Regions from separate parts of the Homo sapiens genome. Here region 2 is linked to region 1. The links are contacts of gene promoters, found by promoter capture Hi-C in human tissues and cell types (Jung and others, 2019). All regions are on one chromosome and are shown on one strand. The core of a region is centred on a gene start or on the middle of the fragment in contact, and the rest is flanking DNA. Distances in the headings are between cores, read along the strand shown. Region 1 holds the start of DLGAP1 (DLG associated protein 1). Region 2 has its middle 61 kb from the start of DLGAP1.

Region 1 (7,565 bases), core at 1,984-4,483:
ATCATCCCATCTTTTTCTTCTGCCTTTGACTTTCTTGACTCCTTCCTATAAGTACCTTATGTTTACAATTGGGCCAACTAGGGTAACCCGGAAGCCCAATCACTGGTAAGGCACCAATCACTGGTTCCAAGGATTAGAACTTGGACATCTTTTCATGGCCATTATTCAGTGATGAAATGAGCCCAGATGACAAGCTCTGGCTTGCAGTAGTGCTTACAGGTGCTATGAGAATACAAATAAGGTAACCAGCCATAGGATATTTAAACAACATTTAAAAATCTCTTAACTAAAAACAAGCATACGAATAACAACAACGAAAAGAAGTGCTATCAGTTTTCCTTACACAATATCATTGTTTGTTTTCAAGTAACTATAAGAATTAGAATATAAATTTCATGGCCAAAGTACCAGATGTATATCATTTTTAAAAAATCTCAGCATCAAATCCTCCTTATTCATCACTCTCTGATTTTATTTTGAGGAATTACCTATCTTCAATTATGTATTCTTGTGGAAGTGTCATAAATCCAGGTGCCCACCCTCCATCCTGAAAGTCGAGAAATCAAACGTTTCTTCTTCCTGTCCTGGTATATATAGCCAGGGAGTCAGTGCCTCCATGAAGTTTGGCCAAGCAAATAAATACTCAACCCTGTGATTTTGAATCTTGATTCAGTAATGGAAGGTGAGAAAAATTTGGTATTTTCTCAAGTAGACTGTGCAGCACCAAACCAAACTGCTGTCTTTCCTGCTTCCTAGCCCATCGGTATTGCCTCAAATCCTGACTGTTTCCAAGACTGCTTTCCAGTCCTCTCTTTAATTCTGGAAGCTTTCAATATTTTTCTAATAAATTATTTTCACTTAAGTTAGCCAACTTTGGTTTCTGTCACCTACAGTCAGAAAAACCTAATAATAGCAATGTTACATCGATATTATTGTTGCTGGGTTAAATCTACCATAACAATTTTGTAAGAAAATTGATTTTCCACTTCAAGTAATTTTATTCACTGAATTCATCTAATTTGAGTTAGGGCCTGACAATGATACTGACCTTCTTATTTATGTGATGTCATTGGAAGAATCTATGGATTAAACGTGGTTAGATACCAGGATTAAGCTCTAGTATTCAATAGTACAGCAGAGGAACTATATAGTTTAATTTATTGTATATTTCAAAATAGCTAGAAGAGAAGAATTCTAATGTTCCCAATACGAAGAAAAGATAAATGAGGTGAGGGATATCCCAATTACCCTGATTTGATCATTATGCATTGTATATATATACCAAATTATTGTATCTACCTGCAAAATATGTGCAACTGTGATATATCAATTTAAAAATTAGAAAAGAAAATCTATTAATTAAACATATTTACAAATCTGGAAAGGCAAATTTTCCAAATTATGAAGGCTATTATCACATATCAGTATTTTGCCTTTTCAGGGAATCCGATTTGAAGTGTCCCTATAATAATTCTTTTTTTTTTTTTTTTTTGAGAGTCTCGCTCTGTCACCCCGGCTGGAGTGCAGTGGTGTGATCTCGGCTCACTGCAATCTCCACCTCCCGGGTTCAAGTGATTCTTATGTCTCAGCCTCCAGAGTAGCTGGGATTACAGGCGCCCACCACCAACCCAGCTAACTTTTGAATTTTTAGTAGAGATGGGTTTTCACCATGTTGGCCAGGCTGGTCTTGAACTCCTGACCTCAAGTGATCTGCCCATCTCGGCCTCCCAAAGTGCCAGGATTAGAGGTGTGAGCCACTGAGCTGGGCCCCTATAGTAATTCTTGAATTGTCTGAGAATATCTTTTAGATCATTGCTAAAGCGTCGGTGCTCATGATATTACAATGCTGAGAATTTACCTCCATTTAGTGGTTTCAGTAATTGTTATTTTCTTTAATGGAAAATCACTCAGTGAAATTGCAGGAAAGAGGTTATTTATCTGAGTCATATTTTTATGAAAACTGTTTTTCACTTCCTTGCATTTTTAGAAGTGTTGTCTTTAAAAGGATATTCTATTAATATTTATAATTAGACATCACACAAAACAGATGCTAAATCTTATGCTATAACTTCTGGATAAAATTACATAAAGATTATGTACTTTTTGGCATAATATTCCCTCAGGAAGCTGTAGAACAAAGGACATTCTCCATGAAGATGCCATTTCTTTTTTTAATAGAAGGAAATAATAAGGCAGTGATTAACCACGATTATTTTAACTACTGTAACGTTTGCAATTAAGTGGGCAGCGCAGGAGCTCAATAAATACTTAATTGATTTACTTTTTTCTCTCCTTGACCCACATCGCAATTCACCCACTCACGCCGCTATCCCTATTCTAACTTTGAAACCAAGTGGATTCTCTCTGTTTTCAGTTTGTGGAAGCGTGGTGCTCAGCCTGTGTGGAGGGGCCTGGCTTCCAAGTGTACTTGGGGTGGAACCTGGGGACTTTACCGAGGGCACAGGTCAGGAGATGAGATTCGTTTCGCTTTTTGAATTACCTTTTGGCCTGTACCAAGATGAACTGGTGGGATATATAGTGTCATCGAACCCGGGAGAGTTGTTGTGGAGGTGAGGAAACAGCTCTGAGGGATAACGGTTTGAAAGTAGTGGCGCTGGGGACGAACATGGGTCCCTGCGAGTCTGAGACTCTCTATTGCCCCCATCTCCTTGCTGCCGATTACTTCTTCAAAAATTCTCCTAGGGACCCTGAGGAGGGACGGGAGAGGTCAGCAAACCCTCTGTCCACCAACTTGATTTCCTGTGATACAAAGTGTCATGAGTTCTCCTGCTTTCCTCCCTTAAAAAAGACAAGATTAGGAACAACGGCTGGCAAGAGAGGAGGGGAAAGCTTAATTCTCCACAGATGCTGCGCAAGGGAACCAATGGGTCACGCCCACTCACGGGTGGCCGCCTCTCTGTTCCATCCCGGGGATGTTGGGCTTTCCCCTCGGTCCGGGGCGAGCGCACTTCCCACCCGGAGACTGAGCGGGCAGCACTCGCAGGCCAGGAGCGCGTTCCGGGAGGCGCCGGCGCCTCCCCGCGGCCTGGGCGCACGTGCCTGGGCTGGGGCCGGAGCCCGCGGTCGCGCCGCGCCGTAGTAGCTGGGGCGGGTGGGAGCGGCTGGCTCCGGGCCGCGGCCGCCGCCCGCCCGCCGGCTCCGGTGGTTGGGCGGAGGAAGCGCGGGACTCCTCCTCCCCACCGTATTAACATGCACCCAGGGGCGGGTCACCAGCCCAGCCTTGCAGCCCCAGCCCGCCGCGTCCCGGCGCTCAGCCTCCGCTCCAGAGGCGAGCGCTGCGCTTCGGGCGCCGCAATCTCCAGGACACGGCCTCGCGGACACCTTCCGCCTCGGGGAATCGGCAGCATAGGCGGCGCGAACGGCCGCCGCCGCCTCGGCTCCTCTCTCGAGTCCTTCCCGTCACCTCGCTGAGAGCCGGTCCTGGTCGCGGGGACATCTCTCTCCTTCCTCCGAGGCTCGTGGGACCAACGGACGGACGCAGCCAGCGAGGGCCGGACTGCGGGACGCGGCCAGGTAACGCCGGGCTGCGCCGCGGGGCTGGGGCGTGCGCGGCGGCGGCGGTCGCGGCGCGCTGGGTGGCTCCTGGCTGCTGCCTGCCGCGCGGTCGCCGCTTCCCTCGCCCGCGGAGGGGCTGCGGGCTGGGCTCCCCCGGCCGCTGGCTCGAGAGTCCGCGCTCCTTACCCTTTCAGCCGCCCGGGGTGCACTCCCGGGCCCTCCGGGTAACCTGGGATCTCGGGGGCGAGCGCGTCCTCTCCGGCCATGCGGTCCTCGCGGCTCCCCACGGGGACCCAGGCAGGGGAAGGATTTCTAATTGCGACAGGGTCCCGGAAGGGGGAGGGGAGGAGAACACCGGTCCCCTGTCCCGGTCATGTCCACCGGTCAAATTCGCACCCCCACCCCACCCCCGATGCACCTTGCAGGGGAGGAGGGGGCTGCTCCCCGCAGGGCTTTCTCGGCAGGCTCCTGGGTCGTTTGCAAAGCAAGTTGTTGCACTAGCTTTTTGGGTGACATTTTGGCATTGTGGAAAAGGACCAACTCCCCCGTGCGTTTGTAAGAGAAAGCCAAAGAAACAGAGACACAAAGACAGGCACAGAGAGAGAGAGAGAGAGAGAAATGGGGTCCAAGGAGGAGGTCACTGGAGAGTCGCCCCCTGCCCGCGGCCAAGGCCAATTCCCGGAGAATCGCGGGGCGGGCCGGGAGACCCGACATTCAGCGAATTGAATGAGCCGGGCTGGAACCAAGGCCAAACAGGGACCTCTCCTCTGGGCTGGGCGAGATAACACATTGCACTTTCATTGAGGGGCGGCTGCAGCTGGGAGAGGCACCTTCGGAGGGCCCGCGGCGATGAAGACCCTGCTTTCAGGACTTCGGCTGCTGCGCTTTTTGCGGAAGGCGCGCTGTCCCGGCCTCGCTGGGTGGCACCGGGAGGCCGTGGGAAGGGGTGGCCCGTGGCTCGGCTGCCGGCGCCGGAGACACTGAGTGCCTGTGTCCGAGTGCCGCGCTCGCCCCCGGCTGCAGGGCTTGCCTCCAGCCCGACCGTAGCGCTGCGGAATTTTCTGCTAGAGAAGGGGAGGATGTGCGGAGGGCAAGGGGTTAAAGGTAGCCAGGCGGCAAGCAGTGGGACGCTGGGTGGGAGATGTCACGTCTTTTGTGGATCCAGGCGAGACTCTTCACTCCTTACTCCTGACACAGAGACTGACTCCCGGTCGTGGGAGGTGAATGCTCCCTGCCTCCTTCCATAACACGTGAAGTTAGGGAATTACGAGGAAAGACATATAATAAAAGTACCAATTAAAGACAGATCTTTTAGCTTTTGTGGTCTTCGTGAATGGCTTCGTAGAAGGTGAGGATAGATCAGTCTAAGATGTGGTTAGACATGGAGATGAGAAATGCTGAGAACTAGGAAAGCGATTTTAGGTCCTAAGGCAAACATCCTGCAAATTATTTTTTACCCTGAAAGAGCTGTTCTAAAAAGAACAGCCCTTTGACTGTTATTTATAGCACGATTTCAGTTCAGGAAACGACTTTCTATTGGCCTAGGTCATTTTGCATATAAAGCAATACTTTTTATTCCTTGAATAAAACTTGAACGGAAATGACATGGAGGCAAGAAATTTTACAAGATCCTAATTTATTTCATGCCAGAAGAATATAAAGTTTTCTTTAAGTTTTTAAAAGGAAATTCAAGCCTATAAAGAAATAATGAATATGTCTATGCAAAATGTATGATTTTAAAAAGTTTAAGTTATAAACGCTACCCTTGGTTCAGAAAATTCATACTCTGGCATGAAACAAGAAAGTTCATAGAAGTCAGGTGTCAGTAGCCCTGTTCTTAATTTCCTTTAGATTTAGTACTTAAATGTAAAGTTGTTTCAGTTGGTTAGTGCCTTGCAATACCCCTAGTCGCAGATATAAAATTCTGTGAATTTTTAAAAAACTAATTTACTTAAGAGAAAATGTTAGTTACCTTGTGTGAGTAAAGAAGAATGTACTTGCATACATAGATTTTTTTAAATTTATAGCTATCTATTTCTCTATATTTCATTCTAAGATTAGTCTGCAAATACAATACTTTATCTCAAACATTACAGGCAATATAAATATGGGCAAAAGGAACTGGTTAACATTCTTTTAAATATGTCAAAATAATTTTCTGACAAGGCTTCTTAAATCTCACACAAGCAATTGTGCTTTGGGGAAATAATGAGTATATGAGTTTTCCCTAGGAGGGAATTTTCATGGTTTAGCATCTTTAATTTCTCCATCAACATAAGCTTTGTTCTGCCAGGACTAAAAACCCAGTAAAAGCATATTAGCGATTAGTGAAAGCAAATGGAGACAAGACCTTCCTTCCAAAATATTATGTAGCGCATATAGAGAAATAGCCTAAAACTAATTGTAGTGTTCTACTTTTTAAATCCTTCTAAGCTTAAGTGTCCTATTCAACCCAATTTGGGAATAGAAACTGCATGCACTTTGAGTTAACTCTATTAAATATGTGTGCCTTTGTTCCATATAGCCATTTAGATTGATTTTTTTTAAATATAAAATTAAAACTTGGAAGAGGGGGACTTGTTTTACAAAGTACTCATTTTAGTGAATATGAGCAATATTCACTAATATGCAGCAAAGTAATAGTTTCATCTACAACTTAATCGAGATGAATACCATATTCTTTGAACATCAACTCTTTCAGAAACAAAGAATTCAGTGTTTTGATTCTGATCTCGTAATATTTCAAATTCAGAGATAATAGTAAAATGTTATCTAATGTGTATTTCTATAGTGAAATTTCTATGATCAGCTCAAATTCATGTTACCTTCATGACCATTCCCACAAATTGCTCCACTGTTTATCAGAGGAGAGGAAATTGGTTTCCTCTCAGGAAGCATCCAATTAAAATCTACTTTTATGTAGATTTCATCTCTATAGAAATCACACTTACCTCTCTTTTCTTAAATTAAGAAAATGATACAATTTTAGGTTATTTTGTTTATTTTCTCTTTTTCCATTGGTAATTATATTTCCCCTGGTACAGGAACACCATTGAAATAAGAAGGCTAAAAAGACTCTTGAAAAACCTAAACACGTTTCCCCAATCCTCACTTCTCATAGTTATAATCTATGCCTATGTCTGTGGTATGTTGGTCTTTTGTACATTTTTTTTATTTTAAAGAAACACTATCACAAAAAGATACTTTGCTAGCATTGTAGAAAAATCTTTATGTTGTTGTTGAAACACCTGAATGTTCAAAAACATCCCATATCTTGAGCTGTTTTATTTCCTAAGATCCTAAGTGCTACTAGTTCTCTATTTTCAGAGAGGAATAACTACAGTGTCCCTCAAAAGATGTTTTTTCTTTCTTTTTTCCGAAGCATGAGAATTTGTAGCTCGATTCTTGTTACTGCCCGATGAAGGTGACTTTCTCTAGTTGTGTGGTCTATCAGGAATTGCCAAAGATGCTGTTCCTAGGAAGATCTAAAACATTGCATTACCACAGAGGAGGATTTAGAAATAGTCTTCTGACATTCATTTTAATCTATTAGACACCCACAGATAACCGATTGTATGAGATACCAGGTACCAGTTCTTTTGCTTCTAAGATGTAACTATTTAGCTTATACAATGCTGTATACTGTATATTTGCTACACCTTTCCCTGTAACCCTGCCAAACACACACCTACAGAGCAAAACATGTGATTGAGAACAAGAAAAAAATGAGGTGTGATTATAAGGCAGTTAAAAAGGTGAATGACATCCCTTTGAGGTCTTCTGTTCTTTAGTCTGATTGTACAGAGGTTGGTATTGCACAGGAGCCGTGTTGACCCAACCATTTCCCATCCTTCTCTCTAGTAAATGGTAGGGGACAGATAGCTGTTGTATAAGTGAGAAACAGGGTTATCTTCATCCATTATTGACTTAAGATTTTTCCTGGTTGCTTTATTATTTTCTCCCTCCTATAGGAGTTAATGATTACTGGGCAGCAAGTAACATCCCACTTAGGAAAACCAGCTCATGCAAAAGGAAGCCCTGTGGATCTA
Region 2 (7,565 bases), core at 3,479-5,978, 60 kb before region 1:
AAAGTCCTCTCTGATAAGGAAGTTTTCTTTCCTAATATGGGGACCATCGCTTTTATTTTGGTTTTTCTTTGCTTATTCAATATTTCTCACTTTTTAATTTTATTTTAATCTTATGTATTTATCCTCTTGAAATCACCAAAGGGTTTATTTTCTTTTTGCTGTTGATTCTGGAGGGAAGACAACTGACCTTCTTGTTAGCACTTATCTGATGCCTGACACAGCAAAGTCACTTCTCCCAGACATCTCTCTGATAGCCCTGGGCCAATCATTACAAACAGAACGATGCTGAAGTTTTATGTGCAAGACCATGAAAGTGGCTTATCATTCCAAAGAACTGATGTATGTTTTTAGACAATGAACAAAAAATCTGTTAAGCTTCTTGCAACTTCTTGAAGCTTTTACAGTTATAATTATTTGCTTAAAACTTACTGCCAAGAAAAGCTTTTGATTATAATTTACTAAAGTTATCTTCTTATAATGAGATTTTATTCTCTGTGTTGTTACAAAAAGAAAAAGAGCAATATTGGTGCTCCAAATAGCTGTAGAGGGAAAAAGTACAAAGAGCAACAGGAAATACAAATTGACATGAGAAAAATAAAAAGTAAGATGTTTTATTGCCTTGAGGGATTTCTAGTGTGCTGGAAAAAACAGATACAAATAGATTGAAATAATTAGAGTATATTCACATGTGGACCATAGCAGAGATGGACATGGTTTGGAGGTTCAGAGAATGAGCATGATCCTAGACATCTAGATTCATAATTCTGTTCCACTAATAATTTAGCATCGTAGCCTTATGTAAGTTTATTAATCTCTCTAAGCCTTGATTTCCTCATCTGTAAAATTAGGTTATTAATCGACTTTACCTCACAGGAAATGTATGAGGATTAAATGAGACAACATATGTGCCTGTTGCATGACAAATGTTCAATGCTTGATAACTACTATTATAATTTATAAAAGTCTAAAAGAAGACAGAGAAGTTTCTAGTCATTCCAAGAAAGGAAAACTGAGGCACAAGAGTGGGCCACAAGGGAGATCCTTGTGCTGATTTCAAGGCAGAAGGTGAGCATCAGCCATTTTGTAGTTCCCACACATTGTTGCCAGTGTGCTGACTCACCTCGTTGGCAAGAAGTAGCAGCTGAACCTAAATTGTTTTCACCTTTCCTTGGAGCCTCCTTTAGCATTTCTGACTCCTGGGCTTCAATTTAACTTCATGACAACAGGCATAGCTTCTGCAGGATACATTTGGCATCAAGGGCAGAGGCAAGAAGATAATGCTCAATCCTTCCAGATGGGTTTCTGGCTCATGCTTATGGAATCCATCCTGCCTTTGGTCTTCCTCATTTTACGTCTATTTTCCTTTCCGTCTGCACACCCTGTGAACTTCAAGATCCATGACTATATGAGGAGAGAGCAGCCTTACGGAGACTGCTTAACCACCTCCCACAATTGTGTAAGTCAATTCCCCCAATCCCCTGTAACAAATTTCTCTCTCTCTCTGGCTGTCTCTCTCTCTTTCTGTCACACATACACACACACATACACCCCTGCCCCTACTGATTCTTTTCTCTGGCTGAACCCTGACTAATACATGGCCTTTTCTACCGCTGTTGCGATTTTTCCTTATGAGGAAGTGCTCAATGGTCTTATTTTGCATTGCATACATACATCATGTCCAGAACAAAAACGTAAAAATATCCCCATCAGTATTTCCAAATACAACAACAAATTTGTGACTACAATGATAGTGAAAATACATTATATACATTTATTTCAGAACTTTATCACTTCATATCACAATCTATGAAATAAATGAAAATGTAAACATGAGTGAATGAATGAATGAATGAATGAAATATTTGAAAGTAGAACTGACTGACCAGTTGAAATAATTTCTTTAGGAGCAAGGTTGCAGTATTAGTATTTCTACCACAACAAATGTTACTTGTAGTATTAAATGGGCAAATCAGTCAGAAGATTGTTTATCAAGGACAGCCCATGTATTTTCTAATTCCTTTTGTAAGCATTAAAAGTTTTTACAGACTGACCAAACAAAAGATCAAAATAGGACACAACAGCAATACTGTTTAAATCAGACTCTTTCTTTTCTATTTCTAACAGGAGAGCCTTTGACATTAAAGAAGATCAGCAGAGTCTGAAACAAAGGAAAAGCTCAGTTAAAAAATCATAAGTAAATGATTGTCTCTCTGAAATATATACTTCATGTAGAGAAACTATTCTTGGTTCTCATAATTTTCTTTTTCTCCCACTCATGATTTGCGGTACTGCACTGGTGTCCATGGCAACATCCATAGCTAATGAGTGGATTACTACCAGTGTCCTGCCACTGTCAATCGCTACATTCTTAAAGACAAGGAAATTTCTCTCTAATTGAGTGGTTTTATTACCCTGTCTCTCCCAATAAGCAAGACCTGAATCTTCACCAAGAATACATGACATCAACACAAGATTATCTATTGCTTTATCTATTTTACCACATTGGAAAGTTTAGTCAAGATGATAACATTTATTCACAAACACTTGGACAGATTGAAAAATCTCCTTGTTCTCTTTATGTAATGAACAAGAAAATAGTAGATTAACATATGTCAAATTATTCATAGAAGGCACTGTGCCTTATGTACCATTTGATGAGTAGTTCTCAATTTTTTTCTATTAAATGACTATAACAATAAGAGCAGAAATCAGTAATAAAACATAATTTAAGAGAACGCATCCAAGTTTATGCCAGCTAAATGCGGACTACTTTTGACTTTGATAATAGTGCAAGGAAGTTAGGCAGTGCTAGAGCTAGAGTGTTTTTACACACAATGCTTTTCATGACTGATCTTGAAATCACCTTGGTTAGTCATGGTCAGCCTTCTTTTATGACACAAAAGAAAATAGAATGGAACAGACGAATCAGAATGCATCATGGTGTGGTAAGAGTTATTTTGTGAAACATGTAAATTGAAATGTAAAATGTATTTTTCACCATTGTCCTTTTCTCACACAATACTGAAGGAATAGTATCAAACTTTCTCTAGATTCTGTTCCTTTTAAATTTTGTCCTGTGAGATTATAGTCTGGTTACTACCTGAATATGCATGTGTTTTGACTTTTCTCTAGTGGCTTAGAGTCTAAATCTATTCTTCTAAAGGAGTCAGAGTTCTTCATAACCACCAAACTCCCTGTATTCATTTCCTAGGGATGCCATAAAAATTACCACAAACTAAGTGGCTTGAAACAATATAAACTTAAATTCTTTCAGTTCTGAAGTCAATAGGTCCAAAATCAAGGTGTCAGGAGGGCCATCCTCTCTCTCCTAGCTTCTGCGGTTGCCAGCAATTCTTGGTGTTAGATCTGCATAACTCCAATCTGCATCTGCGTAACTCCAATCTCTATGATGTCATGCCTGTCTGCCCTCTGTGTCTTCACATGGCATTTTCCTCTCCATGTGTGTGTCTCTTCTCCTCTTAGTCCAATCTGGAAGTGTCTTTGTTGAGATGACTAATTGGATCTGTGAGTCACATGCCTAATCTCTTCATATATATATATATATTTTGTTTGTTTGTTTGTTTTGTTTTATTTTTGTTTTGAGATGGAATCTCGCTCTATCGCCCAGGCTGGAGTGCAGTGGCACGATCTCGGCTTATTGCAAGGTCCGCCTCCCGGGTTCATGCCATTCTCCTGCCTCAGCCTCCCAAGTAGCTGGGACTACAGGCACCTGCCGCTATGCCTGACTAATTTTTTGTATTTTTAGTAGAGACAGGGTTTCACCATGTTAGCCAGGATGGTCTCGATCTCCTGACCTCATGATCCACCTGTCTCGGCCTCCCAAAGTGCTGGGATTACAGGTGTGAGCCACCGTGCCCGGCCCACCAAAATATTTTACAGAAATTCATTGGCCCTGTTTCCAGAGCAAGTTACATGGAGAGATTGAAAATTTTCAAATAATCAAGCTCTGGTTTCTTTTTGCTTAAGAGTTTGTCAATTTATTTTCTTTTGCATTTTACTGTATGTGGCAAGAAGAAACAAGGTCACATCTTTCACACATTGCTTGGAAATCTCAGCAATATATCCAAGTTCATCATCTAAAGTTATATTTTACACCCAACAGCAGAAGACAATTAGCCAAGTCTCTACCATCTTATAATGAGGATCATCTTTGCTCTGCTTTCCTTGTTTCCATCTGATGCCTTGCAAGAATCGCCTTTAACGTTCATATTTCTAGCAACATTCTGTTCATGTTGACATATGTACTCTCTAAGATAAAAGAAGCTTTGTCATTTCTGAGCATTCACCAAAATTGCCTTTAACATTTGTATTTCTACCAACGATCTCTTTAAGGCTAAGTTTTTCTAACATATACCATAAAATTCTTCCTGCTGCTATCCATTATCCAATTCCAGAGCTACTATCACATTTTTTAAGCATTTATTACAGCAGCATCCCACTCCTGGTAATAAAATTTGTATTATTTTCCTTGGGCTGACATAAGCAAAGTATTACAAATTGTGTGGCTTAGAAAATAACAGAAATTGTTGTTTTTGTTGCAGGGTTGGTTCCCCCTGAGGAAGAATCTGTCCCTTAGGTTCTGCAAATCTTTTATACACCTTTGCTTATAGATACATCATTCTAATCTATGCCTCCACCCTCCATGATGTGCTCCCCTGTGTGTCTGTGTCTGCATCATGGTGTTCTCTCCTGATCATGGTGTTCTCTCCTGATAAGGACACCAGTAATGTTGGATTCAGACACATTTTAATGAAACATGAGCTCATCTTAATTTGATTACATCTGCAAAGATCCCTCTTCCAAGTAAGATCACACTCAGGGGTAGCAGAGTTTAAGCCTTTAACATATCTTTCTGGGGGACACAATATGACCCACAAAACCCTCATATAAATTTTGGCTAATTCATTAGGCTTTTCCAGATTTCTCACTATTCATTTCTGGTACCATTTCTCTATCTTTTAACAAATGTATATTCTGGTTGGACTATGACTAGGTTGTAAGCCCTCAGATATGTAGACTGTGTTTTACTCATTTTTTATCCACCACAGTATTTGGCAGTATTTGGGACATTGCTATGCAAAGTAGAAAAATCAATAAATATATTGAAATGAATTGAACTGAATTATATTGAATATTGGTTCTCTATCCAAGAAAAGGTGATCCAATTTTAAAAATTTATGATGTGCTTGAAAAGGCAATAAATCTAAAGATAAATGTATTCTATACCGAAATACCATATTCACCCTATTAAAATCAATAAAGAGAACAAGATGGCACCATGGGAATATAATTTTGGGCAATACTTAAGCTTCTCAGGTATTCTTATTATCATATATAAACAAAATAACATTAATGTTATTGGTGAAGTATCTTTAGGCCCTAGAATGTTATAGTCAAATAGAACTACATTCTTTAACTCTTCACATACATTCATGAACATATATTCTAATCCAGATATTTTTCTAGGTTCTGGGAATGCCAGTCAAGAAACTACAGTGCCTGGACTCAGAATGGTAGTGACACAAGTGACAAGTAGTCATATTCTAGATATATTTTAAAGAAACTGTCAACAGAACCTGCTAAGAAATGGAAGTGGAGTTTCACAGATAGGGAGGACTCAAGATAACTCCATAGACTGTGGCCCAGTAACTAAAATAATGAATTTATACTATCCTGAGATGGGGTAAGCTGGGGGAGAAGGGGAAATTTTAGTGATTTTTTAAACATGTTATTACACAGATGCTTCATAGACATTCAAATGAATATGTCAAGTAAGGAGATGGATATGGGTCTGAATCTCAGGAAACAGGTATAAGTACATGTGGGACTCACAAGCATATAGGAGATATTTATCAACACAGGAATGAATGAGATGATCTGGAGAAGATGATGAATGTATATGATGAGAGGAGGTTCAAAACTAAACCTAGGGGCATCATACTACATGGAAATAAAAATGATCCAATGAAGGAGACTAAACAACAGTAACAAGTGAAGTAAGAGGGAAATCAAGAAAAGGTAATGTTCCAGAAGCCAAATGAAGAAAGCGTTTTAACCAGTCAATTGACACTGATAGGTTAAGAAAAATCAATTCCTAGCATTAGCCATTAGATTTGGTAATTAAGCTAAGTTTCTAACTAAAATTAGTGTAGAAAATAAAACAAAATACCTTTTTTTAAAAGTCTAAGGAATAATTGCAAAAACTCATAACCGAAAAGACAATGTCACAATAAATATTATTACAATAAAAGAAGAGAAAATAACATGTAGAGATTTTTAAAAGTAAGAAAAATTATGAATATTTACTATTTCAATATATTTAACATTTTCAGATGAAATAGATCATTCCCTAGAGGAAAAGTAAATTACTCCAACTAATTCAAGAAGAAATAAGAAACCTTAATCAATATCCAAGCATTAAGCTAATTCCAAATGTAACCAAATTTCTTTCTTTTCACTCAAATTATGCACTCTCATACCTTACCCATACTCATACACACACAGTCCAAACTTTAAAAAGAACTAAAAGGAAATTATTATAGAAAATATAGTAAGAGAAAAAGCCACTCAATTAATTACAAAATAATAATGCAAACTTGATGCAAATACCAGGAAGCCATTATTTTTAAAAAGTGAGTGTAGATCCAAAAATACTGAATGAACTATTAGCTAATTTGAATTTATCAGTGAGTATAAAAATACTGTATTATTATCAAATCTAACTTATTCTAGAAATTTAAAAGTATTCAGAATTAGAAAAATAGTTACTATAATATAACTTACCTCATTATCAAATTAAAGTGAAAAATCAAACATTTCTCCTAAGGCATACAAAGAAGACATTCAGAAAATGTCAATATTGAATATGGTTTATAAAACACAAAAAATGTACAAGAAAAATTTAATATCTCATTAAAAATGACACCACAACCAAAAGGAATTTATGAAGTGAAGGATAGTTCAATATTTCAAAATGGATTAATTTATCATATCAATACACGTAAATGGAAAAAAATGCAACATGATTATCTTTATGGATGTTTAAAAGGCCTTCGATAGTTCCACAAGCATTCTAAAGAAAAACACTCAAAAAGTAAAGCAGCATCTTACTTGATATGGAAACATTAAAGGCATTTCCACTAAGATCAGGAAAAAAATAAAGACATCTATATCCTTACTGTAATTTGACATTGGTTTGGAGGCATGAGCCAATGTAATCAGACAAAAGAAAAATAATTGAGGGACAATACTAGAAAACGACATGTAAACCTATCTCTATTTACTGATAATATAAAATTATTTATGTAAAACACAGTGACACAATTCACTAAATATAAAAAAGTATAAAAATCACAGTCTTTATACATACTAACCATAACATGTTAAAAATAGAATGGAAGAGAATATTCCATTTTTTATTCTAGTATGAGCTCAGCTTAACTAAGAGAACATTCCATTTTTAATGACAACAGAATAGAATGCTTAGGAAAAAAATTACAAAAATTGCTCAACTTATAGAAAGAAAATCTTAAAACACTCTTAAA

Evidence for each region. Contacts are between HindIII fragments. The study calls those that stand out against the background at their distance.
Region 2: a contact is called between a fragment that was not itself captured here and the fragment with the promoter of DLGAP1 in region 1, in 2 of the 25 tissues and cell types used here (H1 embryonic stem cells and heart left ventricle).

The regions. Positions count from the first base shown.
Region 1 is chr18:4,450,975-4,458,539 of GRCh38, reverse strand. DLGAP1 (DLG associated protein 1) reads left to right here and starts at 3,233. Exons shown (of 13, transcript NM_004746.4): 1 at 3,233-3,534. RefSeq lists a silencer at 3,084-3,213. The HindIII fragment of the contact is 8,504 bases long and covers 1,839-7,565 here.
Region 2 is chr18:4,512,683-4,520,247 of GRCh38, reverse strand. No RefSeq gene overlaps it. Among named protein-coding and RNA genes, the nearest start is that of DLGAP1, 61 kb to the right of the region's middle. The HindIII fragment of the contact is 4,730 bases long and covers 2,364-7,093 here.